4 separate regions of the Homo sapiens genome follow, and regions 1, 3 and 4 are each linked to region 2. Evidence: promoter capture Hi-C in human tissues and cell types (Jung and others, 2019). All regions are on one chromosome and are shown on one strand. The core of a region is centred on a gene start or on the middle of the fragment in contact, and the rest is flanking DNA. Distances in the headings are between cores, read along the strand shown.

The links. The method cuts DNA at HindIII sites, captures the fragments that hold promoters and counts their contacts. A contact is called where the count stands out against the background at its distance.
Region 1: a contact is called between the fragment with the promoter of ZNF57 here and the fragment with the promoter of KLF16 in region 2, in 1 of the 25 tissues and cell types used here (lymphoblastoid cells).
Region 3: a contact is called between a fragment that was not itself captured here and the fragment with the promoter of KLF16 in region 2, in 1 of the 25 tissues and cell types used here (lymphoblastoid cells).
Region 4: a contact is called between the fragment with the promoter of DOHH here and the fragment with the promoter of KLF16 in region 2, in 1 of the 25 tissues and cell types used here (spleen).

The regions. Positions count from the first base shown.
Region 1 is chr19:2,895,503-2,902,953 of GRCh38, reverse strand. It overlaps ZNF57 (zinc finger protein 57), which reads right to left and starts at 2,026. Exons shown (of 4, transcript NM_173480.3): 1 at 1,906-2,026. The coding sequence starts at 1,908. It also overlaps the pseudogene LOC100419704. RefSeq lists enhancers at 1,829-1,978, 1,838-2,409 and a silencer at 2,589-2,638. The HindIII fragment of the contact is 10,438 bases long and covers 1-7,451 here.
Region 2 is chr19:1,859,181-1,866,679 of GRCh38, reverse strand. It overlaps KLF16 (KLF transcription factor 16), which reads left to right and starts at 3,101. Exons shown (of 2, transcript NM_031918.4): 1 at 3,101-3,639. The coding sequence starts at 3,183. RefSeq lists enhancers at 1,011-1,565, 4,673-5,558, silencers at 1,739-1,958, 2,029-3,128, 3,459-3,638, 3,689-3,858 and a promoter at 2,008-3,212. The HindIII fragment of the contact is 11,768 bases long and covers 2,067-7,499 here.
Region 3 is chr19:3,155,159-3,162,107 of GRCh38, reverse strand. It overlaps GNA15 (G protein subunit alpha 15), which reads right to left. Exons shown (of 7, transcript NM_002068.4): 5 at 6,156-6,285; 6 at 4,227-4,380. It overlaps GNA15-DT (GNA15 divergent transcript), which reads left to right and starts at 6,933. Exons shown (of 4, transcript NR_110670.1): 1 at 6,933-6,949. RefSeq lists enhancers at 6,613-6,702, 6,743-6,949, 6,360-6,949. The HindIII fragment of the contact is 4,542 bases long and covers 3,249-6,949 here.
Region 4 is chr19:3,495,658-3,503,044 of GRCh38, reverse strand. It overlaps DOHH (deoxyhypusine hydroxylase), which reads left to right and starts at 2,371. Exons shown (of 5, transcript NM_001145165.2): 1 at 2,371-2,484; 2 at 6,159-6,504. The coding sequence starts at 6,231. It overlaps LOC105372245 (a long non-coding RNA gene), which reads right to left and starts at 6,930. Exons shown (of 4, transcript XR_936262.3): 1 at 6,891-6,930; 2 at 6,002-6,094; 3 at 5,432-5,687; 4 at 1,994-3,110. RefSeq lists an enhancer at 2,260-2,369. The HindIII fragment of the contact is 49,740 bases long and covers 1-7,387 here.

The DNA.
Region 1 (7,451 bases), core at 777-3,276, 1.0 Mb before region 2:
TCTTGGGGCTCACCTCCCTGCTCCAGGTGCTACACTTTAAATGCCACAAAGACCCTCATCCCGTAGAGTGAGAATGCAGCAGAATCAGTGCTTTCCACCCCTTGTGTAAGTGGGGGAAGGGAGTTCCAAGGCAGTCTTTATGACTTTACATGGCCAGAAACTGCTTTTCCCAGTCAGCAAACAGATGATGGATCAGTGAAGCAATACTCCTGGTGACAAACTGGAAACTAACCAGAATGGAACACGCCTCAGTTTTACAGGTTTTTGCAGAATTTGCATTAATCTCATGTCTAGCTGAACTGAAATGGAACACGATCACACACTGTCGCAAACTCTGCACCTTGTATGGAAGAATAACTATTATTTTTTGTCTGATTGCTTTGGCATTTGAAAAACTACTATTTTTATGAACATTTTAATCCATCTCTAGCTGCTATAAGATGTGGAACTGCGCACACTTTCTCTACAATTCTGGTGGGAGACAGAATATTCCTGAGAGACTTCCTTAGGCCATGCTTAGCCTGTACCCCACGATAAACAGGTGTTATCCTGACGGACCAGAAGGCAGAAAACACACTTGAACATTTTCCTATTGTCACTAAGGAGAAGAAAAAAGCCAAACAGGAGAACAGTACAGTACATTTACTGACACCGGCTGCCCGAATAAAGCTTTCACAGCATTAGTGATACCCTGCAACAAAACCCCCAGGGCAGCTAACTCCCACCGCTGAGGTCGTCCCCCAAACTGCCTCTGACCCCCAGGCCGTCCCTTGCCATCCCCCCAAGCTGTCCCCTGTAAGGTTCTCTGAGCTGGCCGCACCATGGTCAAGCCCCCCGCCCTTGTGATAATGTACTTTGTGATATTCCCCCGCCCTTGTGAATGTACTTTGTACGATACGTCCTCCTCGCCCTTGTGAATGTACCCCGCCCTTGTGACAATACACGCTCGCGCCCTTGTGAAGGTACTTTGTAATATTCCTCCCAGCCCTTGTGACAATACATCCCCCAAGCCCTTGTGAATGTACTTTGAAACATCGTCGCCGCCCTTGAGAATGTACTTTGTAACACCCACCAACTGTCCTCAAAAAAACTGCTCCTAACTCCGATGCCTGTCCCAAACCTATAAGGACTAATGATTGCCGGGCGCGGTGGCTCACGCCTGTAATCCCAGCACTTTGGGAGGCCGAGGCGGGCGGATCACAAGGTCAAGAGATCGAGACCATTCTGGCCAACATGGTGAAACCCTGTCTCTACTAAAAACAAAAATTAGCCGGGCGTGAGGGCGGGCGCCTGTAATCTCAGCTACTCCGGAGGCTGAGGCAGGAGAATCGCTTGAACCCGGGAGGCGGAAGTTGCAGTGAGCCGAGATCACGCCACTGCACTCCAGCCTGGCGACAGAGCGGGACTCCGTCCCAAAAATAAAAAAAATAAAAAAATAAAACCAATAATAATCCCATCACCCTTTGCTGAGTCCTTTCTCAGACTCAGCCCACTTGCACCCAAGTGAGTAAACAGCCTTGTGGCTCACACTAAGCCTGCTCAGGTGACCTCTTATACGGACACGCGTAACATCCCCAACCTGCTGACCGTCCCTTGCCGTCCCCCCAAACTGGTCCCTGACCCCTGACCGCCCCTACCGTCCCCCCAAACTACCTCCAGCCCCCCTCCTGCCCAGGCCTCCCCCTAAGTTACCCCCAAGCTCCTTGCCGCCCCTTCCGTCCCCCCAAACTGCCCCCAGTCCTCCAGCCCGGCCGCTGTGATGGCGTCCCCGGGTCCCAGGTGCTAGTCCTGCGCCGCCCCGCGCGTCCCTCAGCCAATCCCGGCCGCAGACTTCGGCGGACTCTGGTTCCAGCCGGTTCCCGTCGCTCCGACCGTCCCCTGGCTCTGCTCCTGCCTCGCACTCACCATGTCTCCCCTGCTCCTGGGCTCTCCAAGGCGAGCTCTCCGTGGCCTCGCGGCCGGCGCAGCTGAAAGGTACAGGTACTCCCGGGCCGCTCGTGGTAGGCAGGGCACGCGCGGCAGGGAGGACGAAACGTCCCGCCCTCGGGGCCTCGGAGCTCAGGAAGCGGCGCCCTGATTGGACAATCTCTAAGCCCCCGCCCTTTCAACGCTCTGAGCGGACAGCGTTTTGGACACGCCCCCTTCACCCCTGGGGCCTTCGATTGGACACTACTGCAAACCTGCAATCCGCTTCCCGGTGTCCGCCCCGTGCCTTGATTGGACAGTTTTCCGGACCCGCCCCCGGAGCACCTGATTGGAAGATAACTTCCGCGCCGCCCCGCCTCCTGTCGCCCGAGTGACCGGCGCGTAGCCAACGCTAGTGGCTGACCCGCCAGCGGTGGACACTCCCGTTTGCGCGAACTCGCTCTGGCCCGGGGTGAGCCCAACCTCTCCCCGCAGCTCGGCCGCGCCTCCCGCGTCCTTCTCCCGAACGGGCACGAGAAGTCCAGACTCAGTTTCCCCACGGAGCAGCCGGAGTGCTGCGTGGAGGGGAGGGGCGAGCGAGCGGCGTGGGTCGCGTGGGGTGAGCCCTTCGTGGGGCGGGGTCCTCAGCCGTGACGTCACCGCGCTGCCCCGCGTGGGCGCGGACCCCATGGAGGCCCTGCCCCGTGCTGGAGCACGTGCTGTCAGTGTCCTGATTTTTTTTTTTTTTTTTTTTTTTTTTTTTGAGGTGGAGTCTCGCTCTGTCGCCCAGGCTGGAGTGCAGTGGCGCCATCTCGGCTCACTGCAAGCTCCGCCTCCCGGGTTCAGGCCATTCTCCTACCTCAGCCTCCCGAGTAGCTGGGACACAGGCACCCGCCACCACGCCGGCTAATTTTTTTGTATTTTTAGTAGAGACGAGGTTTCACCGTGTTAGCCAGGATGGTCTCGATCTCCTGACCTCGTGATCGGCCCGCCTCGGCCTCCCAAAGTGCTGGGATTACAGGCGTGAGCCACCGCGCACGGCCAGTGTCCTGATTTTTTTACCCAAACGTTTCCCAGCCTCCTGTCCTTCCCACAGGCCCCTGCACTTTGGCTCGCCCCCGACATCTGAGCCTGCACTAAAATAAGGACCAAACCTCGAGTCACCTGATCCCGAAAATGGGCGGACCCCAGGGAGCCCCTATCCTGTCTGGCCTCGCTGGATTTGTTTTTTTGTTGGACATTGTTTTTTGTTTTATTTATTTTTTTATTTTGAGACGGAGTCTCACACTGTCGCCCCGGCTGGAGTGCAGTGGCGTGATCTCGGCTCACTGCAACCTCCGCCTTCAGGGTTAAAGCGATTCTCCTGCCTCAGCCTCCCGAGTAGCTGAGATTACAGGCGCCTGCCACCACGTCCGGCTAATTTTTGTATTTTTAGTAGAGACGGGGGTTTCACTATGTTGGCCAAGCTGGTCTTGAACTCCTGACCTCGTGATCCGCCTGCCTCGGCCTCCCAAAGTGCTGGAATTAGAGGCGTGAGCTACCGCGCCCGGCGGACATTCTTTAGATCAAGAAATCCGGGGCCGGGCATGGTGGCCCAAGCCTGTAATCTCAGCACTTTGGGAGGCCGAGGCGGGTGGATCACGAGGTCAGGAGATCGAGACCATCCTGGCTAACACGGTGAAACCATCTCTACTAAAAATACAAAAAAATTAGCCAGGCGTGGTGGCGGGCACCTGTAGTCCCAGCTACTCGGGAGGCTGAGGCAGGGGAATGGCTGAACCCGGGAGACGGAGCTTGCAGTGAGCCGAGATGGCGCCACTGCACTCCAGCCTGGGCAACAGACGGAGACTCCGTCTCAAAAAAAAAAAAAAAAAACAAAATCCAGGCCAGGCGTGGTGGCTCACACCTATAATCCCAGCACTTTGGGAAGCTGAGGTGGGTGGATCACCTGAGGTCAGGAGTTCAAGACCAGCCTGGCCAACATGGCGAAACCCTGTCTCTACTAAAATACAAAAATTAGCTGGGCCTGGTGGCGCGTGCCTGTAATCCCAGCTACTCAGGAGGCTGAGGCAGGAGAATCGCTTGAACCTGGGAGGCGGAGGTTGCAGTGAGCTGAGATCCTGCCACTGCACTCCAGCCTGGGCAAAAGAATGAGATACTGTCTGAAAAAAAAAATTAAATTTAATTTAAAAATAAAATTAAATAAATAAATTTGGGATAAACCAGTTAACTGTCTCTCAATCTCTCTCTCTTGTTTTTTTTGTGTTTTTTTTTTTTTGAGACAACGTCTTGCTCTGTTGTCCAGGGTAGAATGCAGTGACAAGATCATAGCTCGGCCGGGTGCAGTGGCTCACGCCTGTAATCCCAGCACTTTGGGAGGCCGAGGCGGGTGGATCACGAGGTCAAGAGATCGAGACCATCCTGGCCAACATGGTGAAACCCTGTCTCTACTAAAAATACAAAAATTAGCTGGGCATGGTGGCGAGCGCCTGTAGTCCCAGCTATTCGGGAAGCTGAGGCAGGAGAATGGCTTGAACTAGGGAGGTGGAGGTTGCAGTGAGTTAAGATCGTGCCATTGCACTCCAGCCCTGGTGAAAGAGTGAGACTCCATCTCAAAAAAAAAAACCAAAAAACAAAAAACAAAAAAACCAGCTCACTGTAAACCAGAACCCGTGGACCAGTTAACTCTTTTTATTTTTTGTAGACAGGCTCTACCTATGTTGCCCAGGTTGATTTTGAACTCATGGCCTCCCGCCAGGACCCCAAAATGCTGGGATGACAGGCATGAACCACCGTGCCTGGCCCACTGAACTCAATATGCTTACAGAATGCAAATGCATTTGAATTGAGGAGTCTTCGCCCTCACAAAGTTGTTTATATACCCATGGGCGACCTCTCTGTCACCTTCTCATGAGATACCTGAAATTGTCCTCACACAGACCCGGCAGGTGGTGTTTAGCCTCTTCCTCAATATTTTATATACTTTTTCCAGAAAATGAAATTTTAGTCCATCAATACATTTAATTATGTATATTGCACGTATTTTATCAAGTTCTGGCAGTTTTGCAGTTATGTTTAGTTTCTCAGAAAAGCAATATTATCACTTCCAATGACAAGATTTACTTCTACCGTTACATTCTTTTTATCTATCATGGTGATTTTTGACGATGTTACATTCAAGCAGGGATAAATAATTGAAGTGAAAATGGGTGTTCCTTTCACTTGGAAGCCTGCTGGCACCTACCTGTTCTTCTCATGTTCTGTAGCCAGACCTTCTATGAGTAGCAGGCTGGCCTGTCAGTCATTGTGTCTGAAATTGACCAGAGAAATTTTAGCAATGGAAAGTAATTGAAAAAAATGTGGCCGCCTACTTAGAAGGTTTTATGCAAGTTGGGCCAGATGTGGTTGCTCACACTTGTATTCCCAGCACTTTGGGAGGCCAAGGCAGGAGGATCGTTTCAGTCCAGGAGTTCGAGATCAGCCTGGGCAACATAGGGAGAGCCCATCTCTATAAAAAAAATACAAGCCGGGCGCGGTGGCTCATGCCTGTAATCCCAGCACTTTGGGAGGCCGAGGCAGGTGGATCATCTGAGGTTGGGAGTTCAAGACCAGCCTGACCAACATGGAGAAACCCTGTCTCTACTAAAAATACAAAATTAGCCAGGCATGGTTGTGTGTGCCTGTAATCCCAGCTACTCAGGAGGCTGAGGCAGGAGAATGGTGTGAACACGGGAGGCGGAGCTTGCAGTGAGCTGAGATAGTGCCACTGCACTCCAGCCTGGGCGACAGAGCGAGACTCCGTCTCAAAAAAAAAAAAAAAATGTTCACAGTCCAGAGAAAGCCTACAAATGCAAAGAATGTGGGAAGGCCTTCTTTCGTTCCTTCTACCTGATCATACATGCCAGAATGCACACGGGAGAAAAAGCCTACAGGTGTGTGGAATGTGGGAACACCTACAGTTGGCCCTCGGACCTTAGGGTTCACATGAGAACACACTCTGGGGAAAAGCGCTGTGGATGCAAACAGTGTGGAAAATCCTTCAGTTCTCCCTCCTCCTTTAAGGGACACATAAGGACTCACACTGGAGAGAAACTGTACACCTGTAGGGAATGTGGGAAAGTCTTCAGTAGTCCCTCATACTTCCGAACACAAGTGAGAATTCACATTGGAGAGAAACCCTATGTGTGTGAGCAGCGTGGGAAAGTCTTCAGTTGGTCATCATCTTTTCGAGGACATTTGAGAACTCACAGTAGAGAGAAACCCTACGAATGTAAGGAGTGTACAAAAGCCTTCGGTAGACTCTCGTCCTTACAAAGACATAAGGATTCACATTGGAGAGAAACTCTCTAAATGTATGCAGCATGGAAAAGCTTTCTGTGGTCTCCCATCCTTAAAATAACACATGAAAACTCACACTGGAGGGAAACCCTATGTTAGTAAGTAATGTGGCAAAGGTTCCGTGCGGATGACTTACTGTACTGAATAAATTCAATACCGTTAGAAAATGTTTATAAAGGTCTTAAGTCGAGCCATGGGTTTATTAGTGCCTTATGTTAAAGTAGACCTCTAGCCCATTATTTCTCATTCTTTTTGAGAGAAACAGCTGGTAAATACTCCTTTAAGTGTTTGCAAGGGGTGCTGTAACAAATCACCACAAAGTTGGTGGCCGAATGAAACATATTTATTCTCTCATAGTTCTGCAGGCTGAAAGTTTGAACTTAAAGGTTATTTATTTTCGTTTTTTTTGTTTTTTTGTTTTTTTTTTTTGAGACGGAGTCTCCCTCTGTCTCCCATGCTGGAGTGCAGTGGCGCGATCTCGGCTCACTGCAAGCTCCGCCTCCCGGGTTCACACCATTCTCCTGCCTCAGCCTCCCGAATAGCTGGGACTACAGGTGCCCACCACCATGCCCAGCTAATTTTTTTTGTATTTTTAGTAGAGACGGGGTTTCACCATGTTTTTTGAGGGTTTTAGTCTTTAGTATTAGAAAATGTATATTCAGCATTTTTTTTACTCAGTGGACACAGTATTTCATGATCCTGGCAGAAATTGCAAAATACAAGGCTGTGGCCTAGGGACACCCTCATCTGACTCATTTTTCTCTTTTACCCTTTTCTGTGTCTCCCAGCTCCTGGCTGGGAATTGGACACAAAAGTTATGAAGTAAGAAGGTAGACCTTGTTATTTGAAGATGATAAAATCTAGAGTACATCATGTGTTGTACAAGATTTCCCATGTCAACGTCGGTACTTTTTTTTTTTTTTTTGGAGGCAGAGTCTCACTCCCTAGCCCAGGCTGGAGTGCAGTGGCGTGATCTCTGCTCACCGCAAGCTCCGCTTCCCGGGTTCACGCCACTCTCCTGCCTCAGCCTTCCGAGTAGCTGGGACTACAGGCACCCGCCACCATGCCCGGCTAATTTTGTATTTTTAGTATAGACGGGGTTTCTCCATGTTGGTCTGGCTGGTCTCAAACTCCCGATCTCAGGTAATCCACCCGCCTCAGCCTCCCCAAGTGCTGGGATTACAGGCGCGAGCCCCCGTGCCCGGCCT
Region 2 (7,499 bases), core at 1,852-4,351:
CTTAGCCTCCTGAGTAGCTGGGACTACAGGTGTGAGGCCACTGCGCCCGCTAATTTTTTTTTTTTTTGAGACAGTTTCTCTCTTGTCACCCAGGCTGGAGTGCAGTGGCACGATCTCGGCTCACTGCAACCTCCGCCTCCTGGGTTCAAGCGATTCTCCTACCCCAGCCTCCTGAGTAGCTGGGATTACAGGCATGCGCCACCAGGCCCGGCTAATTTTTTTTGTATTTTTAGTAGAGACGGGGTTTCTTCATATTGGTCAGGCTGGTCTCGAACTCTCGACCTCAGGTCATCCGCCTGCCTCGGCCTCCCAAAGTGCTGGGATTACAGGCGTGAGCCACCATGACTGGCCTCCAGCTAATTTTTTTTTTTGAGATGGAGTTTTTGCTCTTGTCGCCCAGGTTGAAGTACAATGTTCGATCTCAACTCACTGCAACCTCCACCTCCCAGATTCAAGCGATTCTCCTGCCTCAGCCTTCTGAGTAGCTGGGATTACAGGTGCCCACCACCTGGCCCGGCTAATTTTTTCTTGTATTTTTAGTAGAGACGGGATTTCACCACATTGGCCAGGCTAGTCTCGAACTCCTGACCTCAGGTGATCTGCCAGCCTTGGCCTCCCAAAGTGCTGGGATTACAGGCGTGAGCCACTGCACCCGGCCTGCAGCTCATTTTTTAATGTGGAGAGTTGGGGGTTTCATTACGTTGCCCCGGCTGGTCTTGAACTGATAGCTTCAAGTGATCCTCCTACCCTGGTCTCTCAAAGTGCTGGCATTCCAGGCGTGAGCCACCGCACCCGGTGGAGAATTTACAGGGTCATAGAGAGTAAGGAAGAGAGGACAGAGCCCTGTGCCGGGCGCTGCTGGAGGTTTGTCTGTGTTCACCGCAGGGGTCATGGGTTGCCTGAGTGTTCCTGGGGCTTAGGGGTGTGAATAGAAGCCTCATGGGTGGGGTGTGGGCTGTGTGCCCTCACCTGGGGTCTCCTGCCTGTGGAGTGGCTGGCATGACCTGCAGATGAGGCCACTCACTTGAAACCCTGATAATGGCTGGAGTGGGCAGACAATGGAGTCTCACAGTGAAGGTCCTGCCTGGGGCCATGTGGCCCACCCCTGGAGGCTGCTCACCCCTGCCCCCCATCGTTAGCCTCCCAGTTACAACTGTAAGCCCCTTGAGGGCAGGGCTGGTTGGTTCTGCTCTAAGCCCAGGAAACATCAGTGGAAGACGCATGGTTGGGTGTGGACCCTGAGGCCTCAAGACACACCTGTCCACAAGCCAATGCGGGGTTCCAGGACCCTGGGGGCTGCTGGGATGGTGGGGACCTGGGGGACCTGCCCAAGTGGCCCATCGTCCTAGAAGTTCAAAGACAACAGAGGCCCAGCAGGAGCAGGAACGCCGACCCCCAGCGCCCACCGAATGGTAGGGGTGCAGAGAGGGCTCTGGAGCCCAGGCCTAGGAGAGGGGCAAGTGTGTGCAGGGCACCCTGTACCCTCCCACACTTCGCTGAACCTCCTCTCTCTCGGCTCCGCTCTGTCCAGCCACGTAGAGTGGGCTTACTGGGGCCCAGGGAGGGCTCAGCTGGCTTAACCAAGCATGGTTGAGCCCAGGCGCAGTGCGGGCGACCCAGGGAACAGTGGTCAGCCTCAGGGCGTCAGCTGGGGTTGCAGGTGGGCGGGGGATGGGGCTAGAGAAGCCCCGAATCGGGTCAGGGCCTCTGTCCATGCCCAACCCAGAGCAGGAGGTCGCCGCAGGCCAAAGCAGCTCCGCCCCCTGGAGGCAGCTCCGGCCACTGCGCAGTCCCCGCCGCCCCGCCGGAGCTGGGAAGGGGCGGGAGCGCGGTCGCGACCGAGGGGGGCCGCCCAGTTTCTGTGCCCCCGCCGCCTTGGGCCTGCGAACTGGGCCATCCGCGTCCCTGGTGTCCCCCCTAATATTTAACAAGTTGGCCTGGACGTCCTCGCGGCCGGGAGGCCCGAATACCTGGCCTCAGTTTTCCCGTCCGAACCCCAAGAATCGATGCCTGGGAATGGAAAGAGAAGCCCCGGACCCCGGTGTCCCAGCAGGGCGGGGAACCTCTGACCCGCTCAGGCGCCCCCAGCCCAGCCCAGCCCTTTGCGTTCGGCCCCCTCTTCCCGTCCCCCTATCCCGACCCTCTGGGACCCAACCGGCCCTCCCCACCCCCAGTGGGGCGCGCTCTAGTAGCTCCGGAACTGGGTGCAAAAAGAGGAACGAACGCAGCCTTGCCCCACCCTCCCGGGCCCCGCCGCGGGCGCGGGATACCGGGTGTCTCGGCCGGGAGGCTCCGAGGGGCTCTGTGAGCGGCGAGGGGGAACCCCAGAGAAGAGGACGAGCAGATGCCTGAGTGCGGGGTCAAAGCAGGGCCCCAGGCCGGGAGAAGAGGGGGGAAGGGTCGCGCACGTGGCCTGGGGGCGGGGCCGGCCGCTTCCGCACCCCTCCAACCCCGGCCACGTGGGGATCGGAGCCCTCCTCCATCGCGAACGGGGGCGCGCCCGGGGCCAGGAGGGAAGCATCCGGGGAGGGGGCGGGCTCCCGCCGGCCGCGCGCCCCGGCGTGGGGTGGGCGCGCCAGCGAGGAGGCGGGGCGCGCTCTGGGAGGGAGGGGCGTGCCGGGATGGGGCGGGGCGCGCTCTCGGAAGGAGGGGCGTGCCGGAGAGGGGGCGGGGTCCTCGGCCTCCCGCCCCGGCTTGAGGGGGTGGTGCTCCGGGAAAGGGTACGGGGGCGCGCGCTGGAGTGGGGCGCGCCGGGAGGGGGCGGGGCTCCCGGCCTTGCACCCTAGCGCGGAGAAGGCGCGCTCCGGGCCTAAGACGCTAGGCGCTGGCGGAGGCCGGAGTGGGCGCGCCGGGGGGCGGGTTCCTCCGGCCCGAGCCCCGCCCCCGGCGGCCGCGCGCGGCTCGGAGAGTGGTGGAGGGCGCGCCGGGCGGGGGGCGTGGCTGCGGCGCCCCGAGGGGGCGTCCTCCGGGCGGGGCGGGCTGTGGCCGCCCCCGCGGGCTCCGGTGCGTCAGGACGCGTCAGGCGGGGCGGGGCAGGCCGAGCGCGGGCGTCGGCGGCGGCGCGCGCCGGGCCTCCTCCTCCTCCTCCTCCGCCTCCCGCACTCGAGCAGCCGCCGCCGGCCGGACGGACGCCGCTCCCGCCGCCTCCGCTCCGCCCGCCGCGCCGCGCGCCCTTGCTCGGCATGTCGGCGGCCGTGGCGTGCGTGGATTACTTCGCCGCCGACGTGCTCATGGCCATCTCTTCGGGCGCCGTGGTGCACCGCGGGCGGCCCGGCCCCGAGGGCGCGGGCCCCGCCGCCGGCCTGGATGTGCGCGCGGCGCGCCGCGAGGCCGCCTCACCCGGGACCCCGGGGCCACCCCCGCCGCCCCCCGCCGCTTCTGGCCCGGGCCCCGGCGCCGCCGCGGCGCCCCACCTGCTGGCCGCCAGCATCCTGGCCGACCTGCGCGGCGGACCCGGAGCCGCCCCGGGGGGCGCCTCGCCCGCCTCCTCCTCCTCAGCCGCCTCGTCCCCGTCCTCGGGCCGCGCCCCCGGCGCCGCGCCCTCCGCCGCCGCCAAGAGCCACCGCTGTCCCTTCCCGGACTGCGCCAAAGCCTACTACAAGTCCTCGCACCTAAAGTCGCACCTGCGGACGCACACAGGTGAGTGCAGCCGCGATCCCGGCCCTTGCGGGGGCGGCCGCCTGAGACCCCTCCCCCGCCAGGACCCCGAAACTGCGTGGCGCGTGGGGGGCGGGGAGGGGGGCGCGCCCGGGCCGCCGCCGCGCCGGCCGGCAGGGCGGGGCCTCGGTGGGTGGGGCGCGCGCGGGGGGCGTGGCGGCCACGCGGTCGGGCGGCGAGCGGATGGCCGCCCCGGCGGCAGTGGCGGGGGCTCCGGGGGCCCAGCGAGGTCTGCGGGCGGGATTGAGACTCCTGGGCAGACCACCTCTCTCCCTTTCTGGGCCTTGTTCCGTTTTTTTTTTTTTCTTTTGCGTTCTGGTCTGGGCGGTGGGCACCGTGGTTGGAGCATCCGGCTCTGGGGTTCTGGGTTCTCCCCCTCCCCCAGCCTCAGTTTCCTTATCTGTGAAAATGGAGGAGGAACCGCGTCGCCGCCGCCGGGGTGGCCGCGCGGATTCTCCCCAGAGGTCGGCAGAGCACCTGGCGTGGGGCCAGGATGGGGGGAGCCCGGCACGTTTTCTCTGCGTTCTCTGTATTTTAACGAGGGGGAGGGCGAGGCTAGGAGCGCGGGTTGGGGCCTGAGTCTGGGCGGGGGAACTTCATAGTATTGGAGGACCCTCGAGGGGCTCGGGTCCACACTGCTGTATTTCCCTGGCGTGTTTGTTCACCCCTACCTGGCGGGCGATTCGGGAAGGTGCGCGTAGTTGGAGCGCTTCGGCTACACCAACGCCCCTCCTAGCGCAGTCCCCGGGGCGGCGAGGGGAACCGGGAGCCTGGTGGGCCTGGCTGTATTTTTTCACTCCGTCCCCTCCTAGGGTTCCACTTTCTGGACTGGGAGTTTGGACTGGGCAACAGGGGACGGTGGGCCTTGATGGCCGGCCCTGGTTTGGGCATTAGAGGTGCTTGTCCCTTCCGGGGAGGGTGGGGGGCTGGGGGAAAGCTGTGCGGCTGCCCTTGGGCTTGGCATTCTGGCCTTGCCACCAAACAGAAGACCTCTACCCGATCTGGGTCTCAATTTTCTCATTTCTATCAAGAGTGCGATGCTGCCTCTATTTCATAGCCATAGCGGTGGCCGCTTTGGGCAGCTGGACACTCCAAGGAGGCTTGGTCCGTGGGCTCGGATTGTAGGGACACGTGGAGCAGCCGAAGGGAAGTGGGCCGTCCAGAGTGGTGGGGCTGAGATGAGCAGGGGCCGCGAATGCCTTGCGGAAGAATTGAGGGTCCATCTTTGGGGTATGGGGAGCCGCGCTGGGACGCCTGAGGGTGGAGAGCAGGAGGGCGGGTGGGGGCGGTGGTGTGTAGCCTGCCGGCCGCCCCCTCTCTGTTCTGCACTCTTTTCACCCCTCGCTCAGTCCCTGTCCTGGTCCCAGGGGCCTGGAGGCTCTGCCCACCTTGAGACACAGACGGGAACCGAGGGCGTCAAGACAGGACTTGGGTGGGGTCTGCGTTTTCTGCGAGGAGCCACACATCCTCGGCGGAGGGGTCCCAGGGTGTTACCTCTTTTTGAGGGCAATGGGGTCCGTGTATCTCCGCGGGGAGGGACATTGGGGGTCTGTGAAGATGGCGAGGCAGCGTTGGGAACAGAAAGGGAGGTGCCTCTCCGGGCGGTGGGCAGGGGTCCAGGAGTGCCCTGGCTTTTTGGGGGTAAGTTGGGCGATCTGAACAGACGGGGCTGAAGTGGGAGCCTGTTGGGAAAGCGACTCCCACCTGTCTACCCAGGTCATTCTTTTCTTGCCAGATGGCGTGGCCTGAGAGCTCCATTTGGGTTTTCTGAGTTTCTGGGTTAAGTGGACGGGATGGCCACCTCCCTGAGTGGCACCCAAGAGGCGCTTCCATAGGCCCCCGGGTATTGGGGCAGCGGTCCCTAAGCCAGCAGGGAGGGGAGGGATGGGTTTGGAGTCCTGGGAAGGCAGTATTGTTATCCCGGGATTGCAGTAAGAAACAGGCCTGGGGGTGCCCAGTCGGGCATCCCCAGGGGTGGATGCAGTTGTGCTGATGGCGCGCCACCGTCTACCCTGTGTGGTGGGGGAGGGCAGGGCGGATCTCCTGGCACCCTCCCCCACCCCTTGAGCCTGCTGACGTCCCATTCCAAAGCCCCCTTTACAGTAACGATTTGGGGACTGGGAGGGCAGTCCCAGGCCCAGGCACCTTGGATTCGGTTTCCAAAGGGTTTTGGATACTTGTGGCTTTCCAGGCTCCTCTTCCGGGCCTCCCCAGCCCCCAGGACCACCAAGGGGTCTGTGTAAACGGCCTCTTTTAGTGGAAGGTGGTCTGGTTTTTCAGCCCCCGGAGGAGGGAGGGAATGGCTGCCGTTAAGCTGGTTTTGGGGGACAGGAAGGCCATGCGTTTTTTTGGGAGGGAGCCCCATTGCAGGGCTGTCCCTGAATGGAGTGGAGGCCGGGAAAGATCCGCAGACGAACCCGAGTCACCGGTGGCTGCAGGGCTGTCCCGGGGGCCATTGAGAACGAGTTCCACCCCCACCCACCCCTGCCTGGAGTGCTTCTCTGTAAAGGGAACACCAGTCGTGGCCTGGCCCCATTTTTACAGATAAACCAACTGAGGCACACTGGAGGAGCCCCACCTGTGATTTCGGCCACATTTGGCCCTGGGAGCAGGGAGGCCAGGGGAGCAGTGGGATGTTCTTCATGGGGGCAGCAGGCGGCAGGACTGCACCTCCCGTCCCCTGGGTCTGGCCCACAGCCCCTATCCTAGCCCGGCCAGCTCTCGGCTCTCTCTCCCCTGCGTGGGGCGGGGAAGGACTTTGGAAGCTGTGGGTGATGTTGACGCCGTTGCTATGGTTACGGAGAGTGAGCGAGCCAGCGAGTTGGGGCGGGGGCGGGAGGAGAGGCTGGCTGTCGGCTCCCTGCTCTCCAAACCCCCTGCATCCCCGGAGGGCCCCCCCCCCGCCCCCGGCATGCCAGTGCCCGGCACACCGTCAGCCTGCACCTCCAGAGGGTTTGCCGACACCCTCCCCAGGAGAGGGGCTCAGACCTGGAAGGGTTCTTCTCACCCAGGGCTTCTCTCCTCCGCACTTACCGAGACATTTGGGGCCTGATCGTTTTCTGGGGAGGGGCTGTCCTGGGCACTGCAGGGGGTTATGCAGTGTCCCCAGCCTCTACGCACTCCATGGCAGGAGCACCCCCTCCCCAGTCGTGACAATCACAAATGTCCCCAGACCTTGTCAGGTGCCCCCCAGGGGGCTGCAGGGTCACCCCCAGTTGTATCCCACTCTGAAGTCCCCTGCCGCAGGCCAGCACCCAGCATCCCAGTCCCCGCGCCCCAGGACTTAGGGAACTGTGTCCGTGGTGGCGGGGGGCGGGGTGGGGGGTGGCAACAGGGATGCTAGTGATGACGGAAAGCGCTTCCTGGAGGAGGCAGCCTGAGGCCCACTGGGCTGGGTGGGGCAGGGAATGGGAGAGGAAGGGCGTGCTGGCTCTGGGGTCTGCTGTGGAGGTAGGGACTTGAGGTGGGGAGGGGGCACCTCGGCAAGGTGAATCCCTGCACTTAATCCCGAGGGTGGGGACGCTGGGGGCGGCAGTGAGGCAGGCTGGGCTTTGCAGAGGCAAATCCATTTATGGAGAAGGGATTAGGATCAGAGAGGGGTTGAGGAGGGCAGGACGAGATGTGGGAGGGATCGAGGCGTGCTGGTCTACGCACTGGGTTGGAGGGAGACTCCTCAGGACGAGGTGTGCAGAGGAGTGTCTGAGTGCCTGCCAGGTTTCTGATCCCTTGCTGAAGAGGGCCCCAGGAGGACAGGTGGGTGGGGAAACTGAGGCCCAGAGGGGGAAGCAGCCATGCCCCACTTCATTCTCTCCTCCACCCCCAGGCAGAACTATGCGCTCCTG
Region 3 (6,949 bases), core at 4,270-6,769, 1.3 Mb before region 2:
CACCAGTGCGGTAGATGTGTTAGCTGCTGTTATCAATTTTATTATTATTATCATTATTATTATTATTATTATTTTGAGACAGAGTCTCACTCTGTCACCCAGGTTGGAGTGAAGTGGCATGATCTCAGCTCACTGCAACCTCCACCTCCTGGGTTCAAGCGATTCTCCTGCCTCAGCCTCCCGAGTAACTGGGATGACAGGCCCCCGCCACCACACCCAGCTAATTTTTGTATTTTTAACAGAGATGGGGCTTTGCCATGTTGGCCAGGCTGGTCTCAAACTCCTGACCTAAAGCGATCTGCGCGCCTCAGCCTCCCAAAGTGTGGTTTCTTATTATTATCACAAATATTATTTAGCACAGTGGAGGGTAGGGCTGGGAGTCAGCAAAGAGTGCACCAGTCACTTGTGCTGGGAGACAAGGATGAGTCATGGGTGGTTCCCTTTGACCTGAATGAAAAAAATATCTACCTTATCCTGTTCCCAAATTCTCTAAACTATGAGCTGATTCCCAGGGCTGCTTGGCAAGGAAGAGGGGCTATCCAGGCCACCATCCTGGAACAACTTGACGTCTATCTCCCAGACCCTGAATCTTGTGGGTATAATTGGCTAAAATTGGCCTCATGGGCTCTGAGACATGACAAGACCAGGGATCAAAACCTGGTGACTTCACCAAAGTTTATGTTTACTGATTGTGGACCTGGTGTCAAGCATGTACTAAGGACTCATCTACTATGGTTGCTTGTATATTGAGGTGAACAGTGTCCCCCAAAATTCATGTCCACCTGGAACTTCAGAATATGACTTTTAGAAATCGGATATTTGCAGATGTAATTAGTTAAGTTAAATTAGGTCATGGCCAGGCATGAGGGCTCACGCCTGTAATCCTAGCACTTTGGAAGGCCAAGGCAGGTGGATGACAGATGTGTGGTTGGGCCCAGGAGTTCCAGATCAGCCTGGGCAACATGGCGAAACCCTGTCTCTACAGAAATATACAAAAATTACCCAGGTGTGGTGGTGTGCGCCTGTAGTCCCAGCAACTCAAGAGGCTGAGGTGGGAGGATCACCTGTGCCCAGGAGGTTGAGGCTGCAGTGAACTGTGATCACACCACTGGACTCTAGCCTGGGCAACAGAGCAAGACCTTGTCTCAAAAAAAAAAAAAAAAAAAAAAAGTGGTCATACCAAAGTATGGGCCCTAAATCCAATGACTGGTGGCCTTATAACAACAGGAGAGGACACATAAAGGCATGGTGAGAAGACAGCCATGTGAACATGGAGGCAGAGATTGCAGTGATATGTCTACAAGCTAAGGATTGTAGGCCACCACCAGAAGCTGAGAGAGAAGCATGGAATGGATTTTCCCTTAGAGCCTCCAAAAGGAACCAACCTTGCCAATACCTTAACTTTGGACTTCTGTTGTTTCCTGTTGTTTTAAGCCACCCAGTTTGTGGTACTTTGTTACGGCATCCCCAGGACATGAAGGCAAGTTATCTCCAAGATGGCTGCCGTCACTTCCTTCCCTCCCTGTATGCATGTGTCATGCTGCCTTCAAGAGATGGAGTCTCTTTCTTTTGAATCCGGGCTGATATGAGTGATGTGCTTGACAAATAGAATGTGGCAGAGTAACGTCTGACATTTCTGAGGCTATCATGAGAAGCAGCTTCCACCTGGGCTGAAGTCTGTCTACCCTGAGGCAGCCATATTGTGAGTAAGCTCAAACCATGTGAAGAGGCTGTGGATCATGAGGCCCCAGATGGAGACAGAGAGAACAGGGGAGGTGGAAAAGGAGAGACAGACTAGGAGAAAGGGGAGGAGAGAGAGATGAGATGGGAGAGGGAGGCAGGGAGAGACACAGAGAGAGAGGCCAAGAGTGCCAAGAGCACCAAGGCACCAGACATATGGGGGAAGAAGCCATCTTGGAAGTTTATCTCCAATCCCATAGAGCCCAGCTGATGTCACATGGATCAGAGATGAACTTACCCAGCTCAACCTTTCCCAAATTCCTGACCCACAAAATCATAAGCAAAGGAAAATGACCAGTTTAAGTCACTAAGTTTGGGGATGGTTTGTTACTCGGCAGTAGCTAAGCAGGACACCCGCCACCACACTTTATCCTCACAGTGGTGTTCTGGGGAAAGTGCTAGTGAATATGTACCTTCCCCACGTTGGTCCCTGGATTAACCACAACTCTGCCTCCCCTTTGTAAAATATACTAAGTGGTGCCCAACACTAGATGGTGTTTCTCTGTAGTTGCCCTGTGGCCCTTTCACCCTCTGGATGGACTGAGAGTTTGTTCCCAAACCTGTTTTTGCCCATTGTACGTGTCTTGATTCATATGTAATTAAAAGAAACGTTATGCAAATCTGTAGCTACAAGTGCCGCATGAAAGAAGGTCATTGTATTACAAAACTAAGCTGTGTGCTTTGGAAACATTGTTCAAAGCTCTGCTTTAAAAATTAAAGAGAAAGGCCAGGTGTGGTGGCTCACGCCTGTAATCCCAGCACTTTGAGGCCGAGGCGGGTGGATCACCTGAGGTCGGGAGTTCAAGTCCAGCCTGACCAACATGGAGAAACCCCGTCTCTACTAAAAACACAAAATTAGCCGGGGTGGTGGCTCATGCCTGCAATCCCAGCTACTCGGGAGGCTGAGGCAGGAGAATCCCTTGAACCCGGGAGGCGGAGGTTGCGGTGAGCCGAGATTGTGCCATTGCACTCCAGCCTGGGCAAAAAGAGCAAAACTCCATCTCAAAAAAAAAAAAAAAAAGAAAAGAAATTAAAGAAAAAATAGACTGGGCACGATGGCTCACGCCTGTAATCCCAGCACTTTGGGAGGCCGAGACAGGTGGATCATGAGGTCAGGAGATTGAGACCAACCTGGGTAACATGATGAAACCCCATCTCGACCAAAAATACAAAAAACTAGCCAGACGTTCTGGCGGGCACCTGTAATCCCAGCTACTCGGGAGGCTGAGGCAGCAGAATGGTGTGAACCCAGGAGGCAGAGCTTGCAGTGAGCTGAGATTGCGCCACTGCACTCCAGCCTGGGCAGCAGAGCGAGACTCCGTCTCAAAAAACAAACAAAAAAAAATTAAAGAAAAAATGGATTAAAGAAAAAGAAATTGCTATCCAATTAGGGATAGATGAGATCACTATGAAAGATTAGAAAAAGAAACGTTATGGCCAGATGCGGTGGCTCACGCCCGTAATCCCAGCACTTTGGGAGGCTGAGGTAGGTGGATCACTTGAGGTCAGTTCGAGACCAGCCTGACCAACATGGTGAAACCCCATCTCTACTAAAAATAGGACAGGAAACTACTAAAAATTAGCCAGGCTTGGTGGCACGTGCCTGTAATCACAGCTACTTGGGAGGCTAAGGCAGGAGAATCACTTGAACCGGGGAGTTGGAGGTTGCCATGAGCCAAGATCGCACCACTGTACTCCAGCCTGGGTGACAGAGTGAGACTCTGTCTCAAAAAGAAAAAATAGAAGAAAGAAAGAAAAGAAAAAGAATCATTCTTAAAACCTAGGCAGATTCTGGAAATAGTAGACAATCTTTCCAGAAGTGCTTTACAACAGTGACCTCTACATAGCAAACCCATGCTTGAAGGATCTTGGCTCAAACCCCAAATGTTGGCCAACAAGCATAAAATAAAATGTTTGGCCGGGCATGGTGGCTCCTGTCTATAATCCTAGCACTTTGGGAGGCTGAGGCGGGTGGATCAGGAGGTCAAGTGATCGAGACTATCCTGGTCAACATGGTGAAATCCCGTCTTTTCGTACTAAAAACACAAAAATTAGCTGGGCGTGGTGGCGCGCACCTGTAGTTCCAGCTACTAGGGAGGCTGAGGTAGGAGAATCGCTTGAACTCTGGAGGGAAAGGTTGCAGTGAGCCGAGATCACGCCACTGCACTCCAGCCTGGTGACAGAGCAAGACTCTGTCTCAAAAATAAATAAATAAATAAAATGTTTAAGGTGTACGTGATATGCTACGTGTTTTTAGAATTCCTCACTTTACTCAGTTCCAAGGGCCTCTGCTATTTTATTCCATTCCACAGAAGGGAAAACAGATTCAATGAGGTCGGGCAGTGGATGGAGCTGAGTCTAGAACGCGGGTCTGATCCTATGTGAAAGTTCCGGTGACTCCAGGCTGAAGTAGAGTCTGGATTAGCATCTCTCTTCGGAGCTGCTTTTGGGAGTTGAAGGGTATAGAAAGTTCTAGAATTACTTACCCTGGAAACTGGGGAAATAGGTAGCCAGGTGGGAGGTGGGGATTTTCTCCTCCAGGATGTCGGTTTTGTTGAGAAAGAGGATGACGGATGTGCTTTTGAACCAGGGTAGTTCCAGGATAGTCCCAAACAATGCGAGGCTCTCCTTCATGCGGTTCTGTGTTGGGGGCAGAAGCAGGTTAGTGCTTCAACCAGCCAGGTGGGACAGGAAACCCTCCCATCGCGGAGACGGGGCTGTTGGCTCCAGGGGCATGGGCTCACCCCTATCTGCCTGGCTGGGGCTGAGGCGGGTGTGCCCGTGTTTCCATATGGACAGCTGCCTGGGTGTGCCTGACATGGTTTTGTGCCTGTGCTGGTTGGAAGTGTGTCCTCCCGAAATTCATGTCCCCCCAGAGCTTCAGAGTGTGACCTTATCTGGAGAGAGATTCTTGAACTCCTGGCCTCCCAGCGTGCTGGGGTTATAGGCATGAACCACTGCACCTGGCCTGGAGATAGGGTCTTTGAAGAGGTCGTTAAGGTGAGGCAATACTAGAATACGGTGGCCCTCAAGTCCGTGACTGCTGTCCTCATAAGAAGAGGGAGACCTGGCCGGGCGCGGCAGCTCACGGCTGTAATCCTAGCACTTTGGGAGGCCAAGGCGGGCAGATCACCTGAGGCCAGGAGTTGGAGACCAGCCTGGCTAACATGGTGAAACCCCGTTTCTACTAAAAATACAAAAAATTAGCCGGGCATGATGGCAGGTGCCTGTAAACCCAGCTACTCGGGAGGCTGAGGCAGGAAAATCGCTTGAACCCGGGAGGCGGAGGTTGCAGTGAGCTGAGATCGCGCCACTGCACTCTAACCTGGGCGACAAAAGCGAGACTCCATCTCAAAAAAAAAAGTACAATAAGGTCTCAAATGCCTTGTGTTATGGGGTACATCATATTTCCCCAAAATTCATACGTTCAAGACCTAACCCCCTAGAACCTCAGTTTGTGACCTTCTTTGGAAACAGGGCCATCACACGAGGAATTAACCCAGATGAGGTCGTACTGGAGTAGGGTGGGCCCTGATCCTAGACGACTGGTGTACTTATTAAAAGAGGCTATTGGCTGGGCACAGTGGCTCACGCCTGTAATCCCAGCACTTTGGGAGGCCGAGGCGGGCGGATCACGAGGTCAGGAGATTGAGACCATCCTGGCTAACATGGTGAAACCCCCTCTCTTCTAAGAATACAAAAAAAAAATTAGCCGAGCGTGGTGGCGGGTGCCTGTAATCCCACCTACTCCGGAGGCTGAGGCAGGAGAATGGTGTGAACCCGGGAGGCGGAGTTTCCAGTGAGCCGAGATCGCGCCACTGCACTCCAGCCTGTGCGTGTGCGTGCATGTGTGTGTGCACGCATGTGTGTGCCTGTGTGCCTGTGTGTGCGTGTGTGTGCCTGTGTGTGCGTGTGCATGTGTGTACTGTGTGTGTGCATGTGTGTGTTCATGTGTGTGCGCATGTGTACATATGCGTGTATTGTGCACGTGAGTGCATGCAAGTGTGCATGTGTGTGGTGCATGTGTGTTCGTGTGCATGTGTTGTGCATGTGCACTGCGTGTGTACATGTGTCCCGTGTGTGCACGTGTGTATGTGCATGTATTATGCACGTGTCTGTGCGTGTTTGTGTGCATGCATTGTGTATGTGCGTGTGTGCACTGTAGTGTGTGTGTGTGTGTGTGTGTGTGTGTGTGTGTGTGTGTCTGGGGTCCTGACCAAACAAATGCTGTAGGTCTGTGTCTTGGGTTGCTGCAATCTGACCACAAAAGGCTGAAGGGTCAAGTTCATAGCCATGCTGGGCACACACAGGCCCGTTCAAGAGCAGGGATCCCTCCCTTTCTGCACCAGAGCTTCCTGCTCAGGTGAGGGTCCCTGGGCCAACAAGTGGGCAGGGCGAGGGAGGCGGTGGCGCACCTCCTGGTTGTTCTCCTCCAGGCACTGGTCGTATTCACTCAGTGAGGCCAGGTAGATGAGGGCGATCACGTTCTCGAAACAATGGATCCATTTCTTACGCTCTGACTTCTGGCCCCCGACGTCCACGATCCTACAGGGAACCGAGGTGCCCCCTTTCAGAGCTCAGGAGCCTGCTCCGTGACACCCCCAACCCCCATCACGTCTGGGATATGCCAAGATCCATAATAGCGACAGCAAGAATAGGTGCTAGCCTCTCGTGGATTTGCCATGTCATTCCCGCGAGGCAAGGATGAGTCTTACGCCCATTTTACAGATGAGAAGCCTGAGATCCAGGGAGGAGCGGGGACTTTCCCAAGCTTCTACTGTGCTGGGCTGCCTGCTTTCTACCCCCATATTAGAGGGGAGCAGGTTGGACAGATCTGAGATGTGCCCTGGTGCTGGCTGGGCGACCCGGCGGAGGAAATTGCCAAACATCTCCAAAACTCAGTTTTCCCATCTGTGCTATGGGGCTCCTGTGCTCTGGCTGGCCATGGGCATGTCCAGTGGCCACACAGATGGGAATGAGGGCTGTTCCCAGAGCACACGTCCTCCCCTCCATCTGTGACTCAGCCCCACGCACCGTAACAAAAGCCTGAACCCTGCCCCCACCTTCCTGTTCTCTCTCTTCTGAGAAATGTGGGTCGCTGATAACCATCTGTGCGTCATTTCCCTGGGGATGCAACCGTTACTCAGGAAGTCCCAGAACAGAGGCTTTGGACGGGCCCGGCCCAGGGCCTCAAGCAAGAAGGGACTTG
Region 4 (7,387 bases), core at 1,122-3,621, 1.6 Mb before region 2:
GCAGTGATGCCTGTTATCTGCAGTCAGTTTTCCAACACATAGGAAGGCAATACAATAATTTAAAAAAAAAAAGGGGGGGTGGGCCGTGCACGGTGGCTCACGCCTGTAATCCCAGCACTTTGGGAGGCCGAGGCGGGCGGATCACGAGGTCAGGAGATCGAGACCATCCTGGCTAACACGGTGAAACCCCGTCTCTACTAAAAATACAAAAAAATTAGCTGGGCTTGGTGGTGGGCACCTGTCGTCCCAGCTACTTGGGAGGCTGAGGCAGGAGAATGGCGTGAACCCAGGAGGCGGAGCTTGCAGTGAGCTGAGATCGCCCCATTGCACTCCAGCCTGGGTGACAGAGCGAGACTCTGTCTCAAAAAAATAAAAGTGGGGGTGTCAGCTCCATGAGGCCAGACACTGTGTCTGTTTTGTCCTGTGTCCTCTGTGCCCAGGACACTATCCTCTGTGCTCAGGACACTGTCCAGCACACAGTAGTTGCTCAATAAGTATTTGTGAATGTTGTCTTAAAATAGAAGTTGGCCTTCCAAAAGGATTTCTTTGCTATGCACAGCATTTTATGTTTTTTCATTAATTTTTATTTAATTATTTTTTTGAGATGGAGTCTCACTCTGTCACCCAAGCTGGAGTGCAGTGACGCGATCTTGGCTCACTGCAACTTCCGTCTCCTGGGTTCAAGTGATGCTCCTGCCTCAGACTCCTGAGTAGCTGGAATTACAGGCACCCGCCACTAGGCCAAGCTAATTTTAGTATTTTTAGTAGAGATGGGGTTTCAGCATGTTGGCCATGCTGGTCTTGAACTCCTGACCACAAGTGATCCACCTGCCTTGGCCTCCCAAAGTGCTGGAATTACAGGCGTGAGCTACAATGCCCAGCCATGTTTTTTTATTAATTGCTCATTTTTTTTTTTTTTTTGAGATGGGGTCTTGCTCTGTCACCCAGGCTGGAATCCAGTGGTGTGATTACAGCTCACTGGATCCTTGAACTCCTGGACTCAAGCTATCAAGCCACCTGAGTAGCTGGGCCTACAGGCATGAGCCACCAGGCACAGTTGATTTTTTTTTTTTTTTTTTGGAAATGGAGTCTTGCTCTGTTGCCCAGGCTGGAGTGCAGTGACAGGATCTCAACTCACTGTAACCTGTGTCTCCCAGGCTCAAGCGATTCTCCTGCCTCAGCCACCCAAGTAGCTGGGATTACAGGCTGAGCCACTGCGCCCAGCCAAATTAAAAAAAATTTTTTTTCTGTTGAGACGGGGGCTTACCACATTGCCCAGGCTGGTCTTGGAATCTTGGGCTCAATCGATCATCCTCTCACCCCACAGCCTCCCAAAGTGCCAGGATTACAGGTATGAGCCACCACTCCTGGCAGTCACCCACATTTTAAAAATAAGAGATTGCAAGCAGGGCACAGTAGCTCACGCCTGTAATCCCAGCACTTTGGGAGGCCAAGGCAGGTGGATCACCTGAGGTCAGGAGTTTGAGACCAGCCTGGCCAACATAGTGAAACCCTGTCTCTACTAAAAATACAAAAAGTTAGCTGGTGTGGTGTTGCATGCCTGTAATCCCAGCTACTCGGGAAGCTGAAGCCTTTTTGTATTTTTAGTAGAGATGGGGGTTTCACCATGTTGGCCAGGCTGGTCTCGAACTCCTGACCTCAAGTGATAACACCCACCTCGGCCTCCCAAAGTGTTGGGATTACCGGTGTGAGCCACCGTACCCGGCCTCTTTCAGGTCTTTCTTCAGATGTCACCACCTCAGATTCTGGCCACCCTTCCTGAAACTGCACACCCTATACATACACCGCCCTTGGCTACCGAATTTTTTCTCGTTAGCCTTTTTCACCATCTAATAGGTATTGCATTTACTTATCGTGTTATTTTCTGTCTCTATAACAACACTGGGAGGCGTACGAGGGTAAGGGCTGAAGGCTCTCTTGTCCTCAAGGCCATGTACTATTTATTACATACATGAATGAATGAACGACTGCATTTCTTCCTTTTTTTATTCCTCACCTACTTAAGGTTCGAGCTCCCTGAGCCCATTGGCCAACACCTCTGGAGTCTGACCACGCCTAGAAACACTGCGCATGCTCCGTTGCTAGCCAGCCCAGGCAGGGCGCTGAATCGGCACAAACCAGTCTCACTTCTTGTACCGCAGTGGGGAGGTTGGAGAGAATTTTTTCCCATGAAAGGGCATACGTTGCCCGTCCCCTTCCCCGAAGAACGCACTAGGAATACTGTTCCTGCGTTTGCATGAGCTGTGGCACCAGCACCGACTCAGCCTTCCGGGCCTCCCTCATGCACGGAGCCTCTCACTAGGTCTCACCCGCGGCTGCGTTGGTGCCGTCCGGCACGGTCACGTGGGCGAGAAAATGGCGGCCCCCAGACCGCACTGCGGGCGTCGCGGCAGGTGAAGCGGTGGTGGCAGAGGCGCCTGCGGTTACTGGCCGGGCCGACGGGTCCTGAGTCTCCAGAGCTCGGTGAGGCGTCCCGGAGGCGGCGATCACGGTGTGGGGCCCGGGTCTGGCGGGCGGTGGCACCGGGAGCGCCTCGTTAGGGAATCCGGTCTCAGGGATTCGTTGACTGTGGATGGGGCGGGTTAAGGGGTCTCGAGTCCCGGCGATCTCTTTCCTCTGGGATTTTTTACATGAAAGAGTGCCCACCTCACGTCCTGAAGCTCCTATGTCGTACGGTTGGGTCTCAATGGTCCCCAGTGCCCTGCCAGCTCGCACAGGCCTGCCCTCTGGTTTCTGATGACCCCTCTTTAAAGGTGTCACTCTCCTTTGATGGTCACCTGTGCTTAGGTGGCTACACTGCCCTCGTCAAGCCCAGGCAGCCTTGCTGACGCCACTGTTCACCAGAGAGGGCTGCCAGCATGCCATAGCCAGCCTGTCTTGAGATGAAGCATCCGCCAGGTTCTCAGCCGATCTGGAAAGAGAGGGGTCCCTTCTCCCCTTGGCTGTGTTCTTTTATCCTAAGTCATTCAACAAAGCGTTGGTGGTTTAGAGCCCGACTCTGGAGCCAGACTTCCTGGATTCCTAACTCTTCACGCTGCTCCCAAGCAAGTTCCCAAGCACAGTCCCAAACTGTGCCTCAGTTTCCTCACCTGTAAAATGGGGACAATCTTAGTAACTACCTCACAGGGTAGTGATGTAGATCGAATGAATTAATGAATGTAAAGAGCATGGAGTGCCTGGCGCGTAGCAAATGCTACATAAGTGTCAGCTGCTATTGTCACGGTTGTCGTTTTTATTTTATTTATTTATTTTGAGACAGGGTCTTGCTTTGTAGCTCAGTCTGGAATGCAATGGCACGATCTCGGCTCACTGCAACCTCCGCCTCTCGAGTTCAGGCGATTCTCCTACCTCAGCCTCCCGAGTAGCTGGGATTACAGGCGCCCACCACCACGCCCAGCTAATTTTTGTATTTTTAGTAGAGATGGGGTTTCACCATGTTGGTCAGCTGGTCTCGAACTCCTGAACTCAGATGGTCTGTCCACCTCGGCCTCCCAAAGCGCTGGGATTACAGGCGTGAGCCACCGCGCCCAGCCGGTTATTGTTTTTATTGAGGCCCTACTGCGTGCAGGTCATTGCACTAAGTGCTGGGAATACAACAGTGACCAAGATAGACTCAGTCCCAGCCTTCAGAGTTCTATTCTAATGAGGGATAAGACCAATCACAAGCAACTAAACCAATACTTTCCAATATGATATCTAGGAGTCTTAGGCGCCGTGGAGAAAAATAAAGCTGAATAAGTGAAAAGAGATGGAAGAGTAACATTGTCCATTGTGATCAGGGAAGGCTTCCATGAGGAAGTGATGTTGGAGACCCAGGAAAGCAAGAGGATGAGCACGGGTGTTCCTGGACCAAACTGAGGGTCGGGCTGCTATTTCTCATGGTCCAATAACGAGATGCAGATTAACTGGGGAGGAAGAGAGTTTTTATTTCTGTAACCGGTTACAGGGAGAAGGCCTGGAAAATATCGCCAGACCAACTCAAAATGACAAAGTTTTCCAGAGCTTATATACCCTCTAAGCTCTCCATCTACATGTAACTGAGCATCCATCTAAAGACTTAAAGTGACTAACTTCTTTTAATCTATAACTAAGATCTGAATCCTGAAGACTTTCCTTTGGAACCTCAGTAAATTTACTTAATCTAAATGGGTCCAGGTGCTGGGGTGATCACCCTTATCTCATCTCCAGTGGGTCCAGGTGCTGGGGTGATCATCCTTATCTTGTCTCCTGCTAAATCATGGAGGTTTGGGGAGTTCTTCAGACACCCAGTAAAACTTGTTTCATCCTAAACGGGTCACATTAAGAATTCCTTCGTTATTGGCTGGGTGTGGTGGCTCAAGCCTGTAATTCCAGCAGTTTGGGAGGCTGAGGCGGGTGGATCACCTGAGGTTGGGAGTTCGAGACCAGCCTGACCAACATGGAGAAACCCTGTCTCTACTAAAAATACAAAATTAGCCGGGCATGGTGGTGCATGCCTATAATCCCAGATACTCGGGAGGCTGAGGCAGGAGAATCACTTGAACCCTGGAAGCATAGGTTGTGGTGAGCCGAGATAATGCCACTACACTCCAGCCTGGGCAAAAGAGCGAAACTCTGTCTCAAAAAAAAAAAAATTCCTTCATTATCTTGTCATGCCTTAAGGCCCAGGAAAGGCCTGGGCAAAACTCTTCATGGGCTTTTGTTACATTCCAGCCTTTGTATGAGGGCACTGGCTCTTTTAGCTTTTAATGTTTAACTTAACCACTCAGTCAGTGCTGAAACAGTTATGGAGGCCTGTGTTAGTGAGGCCTGGCCTGCTACGTGGGGACATCTAGGGAAGAATGTTCCTCATGGAGATCACAGCAAATGCAAAGGCCCTAGGGCTGCACTGGGCCTGGCGTGTTGGAGGAACAGCGAGGAGGCCTGTGTGGCTGGAGTGGAGCTAGAGAGGGAAGAGGTGATGGGAGATGGTCATGAAGGGCCTTTGGGACTGTCAAGTAGTTGAGTGAGGAGGCATAGGAGGATTTTAAGCAAGGGAGTGATATGGTCCAGTTTACATATTGAAAGTACTTCTGAATCTGTTATCTAAGCTGTGTAACAAAAATCCCCATAATGGCTGGGGGTAGTGGCTGATGCCTGTAATCCTAATGCTTTGGGAGGCTGAGGCAGGATGATCACTTGAGCTTGGGAGTTGGAGACCAGCCTGGGCAACATAGAAGTGAGACCCCATCTCTACAAATAATAAAAAAAAAATTAGCTGGGCATGCTGGTGTGTGCCTGTAGACACAGCCACTAGGAAGTCTGAGGCAGGAGGATCACTTGAGACTGGGAGTTCGAGGCTACAGTGAGCCGTGATCATGCTGCCGTACTCCAGCCTGGCGACAGAACAAGATCCTGTCTCAAAAACAAACAAAAAAACATACTTGGTTACCTTCAACAACAGTAAACAGTGTCGCACACAGTTGCTCTGGGCCTGGCTTAGCTGGCTGGCTCTGGGTCTGGCCTCTGGTAAGGCCTCAGTGGAGACGCTCTGGGGCTGCATCATCTGAAGGTTCGCTTGGGGCTGGACGAGCTGCTGCCAGCCCACTTCTCTCACATGGCTGTTGGTGGGAGGGCTCAGTTTTTTGCCACGTGGGCCCCTACAAAAGACTGCTTGAGCATCCTCACAACATGGTCACTGGCTTCCCCTAGAGAGAGAACAAGGATGAGACTGTTGTGCTTTTTATGCCCTAACCTTGGAAGTCTTGCTCTGTTCCATCTTCTTGGCATTCACATGGGTCAGCCCTGTTCAGAGTGGGAGAGGACTATATAAAGCCTTGAATATTGGGTGGGGATCGCTATATAAAGCCTTGAATATTGGGTGGGGATCGCTAGGGCCATTTTGGGGGTCAGCTGTCCCTCTGGCTGCTGTGTGGAGAGCAGACAGTGGAGGTCATTTCTGATAGGCCTATAGGCGAGAGGCAGTGCAGAGACTGAGGCCCAGAGAGGGAAAGCAACTTACGGAAGGCTGCACAGCTAGTAGGGAGGTTGGAGCTGAGCTTTCAGCGTAGATGCTCAGGTTGGTCAGTGGGTAGGAATTTGCCCCACCCAGGTCCTAGGAACAGACAACGCACTGGTGAAGGGGGCTTCTAACCTGGGCTCTCATTTTTCTGCCACAGGTTCTTACATCCCCGCGTCCCCAGGTTTAGCCTGAGCAGGGTTGTGGAAGGCCGGGACCCATTGACAGCACGATGGTGACGGAGCAGGAGGTGGATGCCATCGGGCAGACGCTGGTGGACCCCAAGCAGCCCCTGCAGGCCCGCTTCCGGGCGCTGTTCACGCTGCGTGGGCTCGGCGGCCCAGGCGCCATTGCATGGATCAGCCAGGCCTTCGATGACGATTCCGCCCTGCTCAAGCACGAGCTGGCCTACTGCCTGGGCCAGATGCAGGATGCCCGCGCCATCCCCATGCTGGTGGACGTGCTGCAAGACACCCGTCAGGAGCCCATGGTGCGCCATGAGGCAGGTGAGCACCTGTCTGTGTCCCGGGCACCTGCTCCCTCCTGCCTCACTTCTTCATGACCCCACGTGTCCCCTTCCTCACTCAGGTGATAAATATCAGAGTGGTCAACTGCCCCATAGAGCACCAGATAGTAAATACCTGCAGCTCTGCAGCCAGACAGCGACTCAATAAAGCCAGCGCAGGTCATCTGTCACCAAATGGCTAAGGCTGTGTGCCCAGACAACCTCAACTGGGCAGGGGGCGGTGGCTCAGGCCTGTAATCTTAGCACTTTGGGAGGCCCAGGAAGGTGGATCGTTTGAACTCAGGAGTTCAAGACCATCCTGGGCAACATGGCAAAACCCTGTCTCTAGAAAAAATACAAAAATTAGCCAGGCATGGTGGCATGCACCTGTAGTCGCAGCCACTTGGGAGGCTGAGGCGGGAGAATCGCTGGAGCCCGGGAAGTCAAGGTTGCAGTGAGCCATGATCGTGCCACCGCACTCCAGCCTGGGCAACAGAGTGAGATCCTGTCTGTGAAAAAACAAAAAACAAACTTCATTTGTAAATGCTGAGATTTGAATTTCATATAAATTCCACCCATCAGGAAGTACTATCCCTTTGATTTTTTGTTTTAAACCATTTATTTGTTTGTTTTGAGTCAGAGTCTCACTCTGTCGCCCAGGCTGGGGTACTGTGGTGCCGTCTTGGCTCACTGCAACCTCTGCCTCCCGGGTTCAAGTGATTCTCCTGCCTTAGCCTCCCAAGTAGATAGCGTTACAGGTGTGTGCCACCACGCCTGGGTAATTTTTGTATTTTTAGTAGAGATGGGTTTTGCCATGTTGGCCAGGCTGGCCTTGAACTCCTGGCCTCAAGTGATCCACCTGCCTCGGCCTCCCAAAGTGCTGG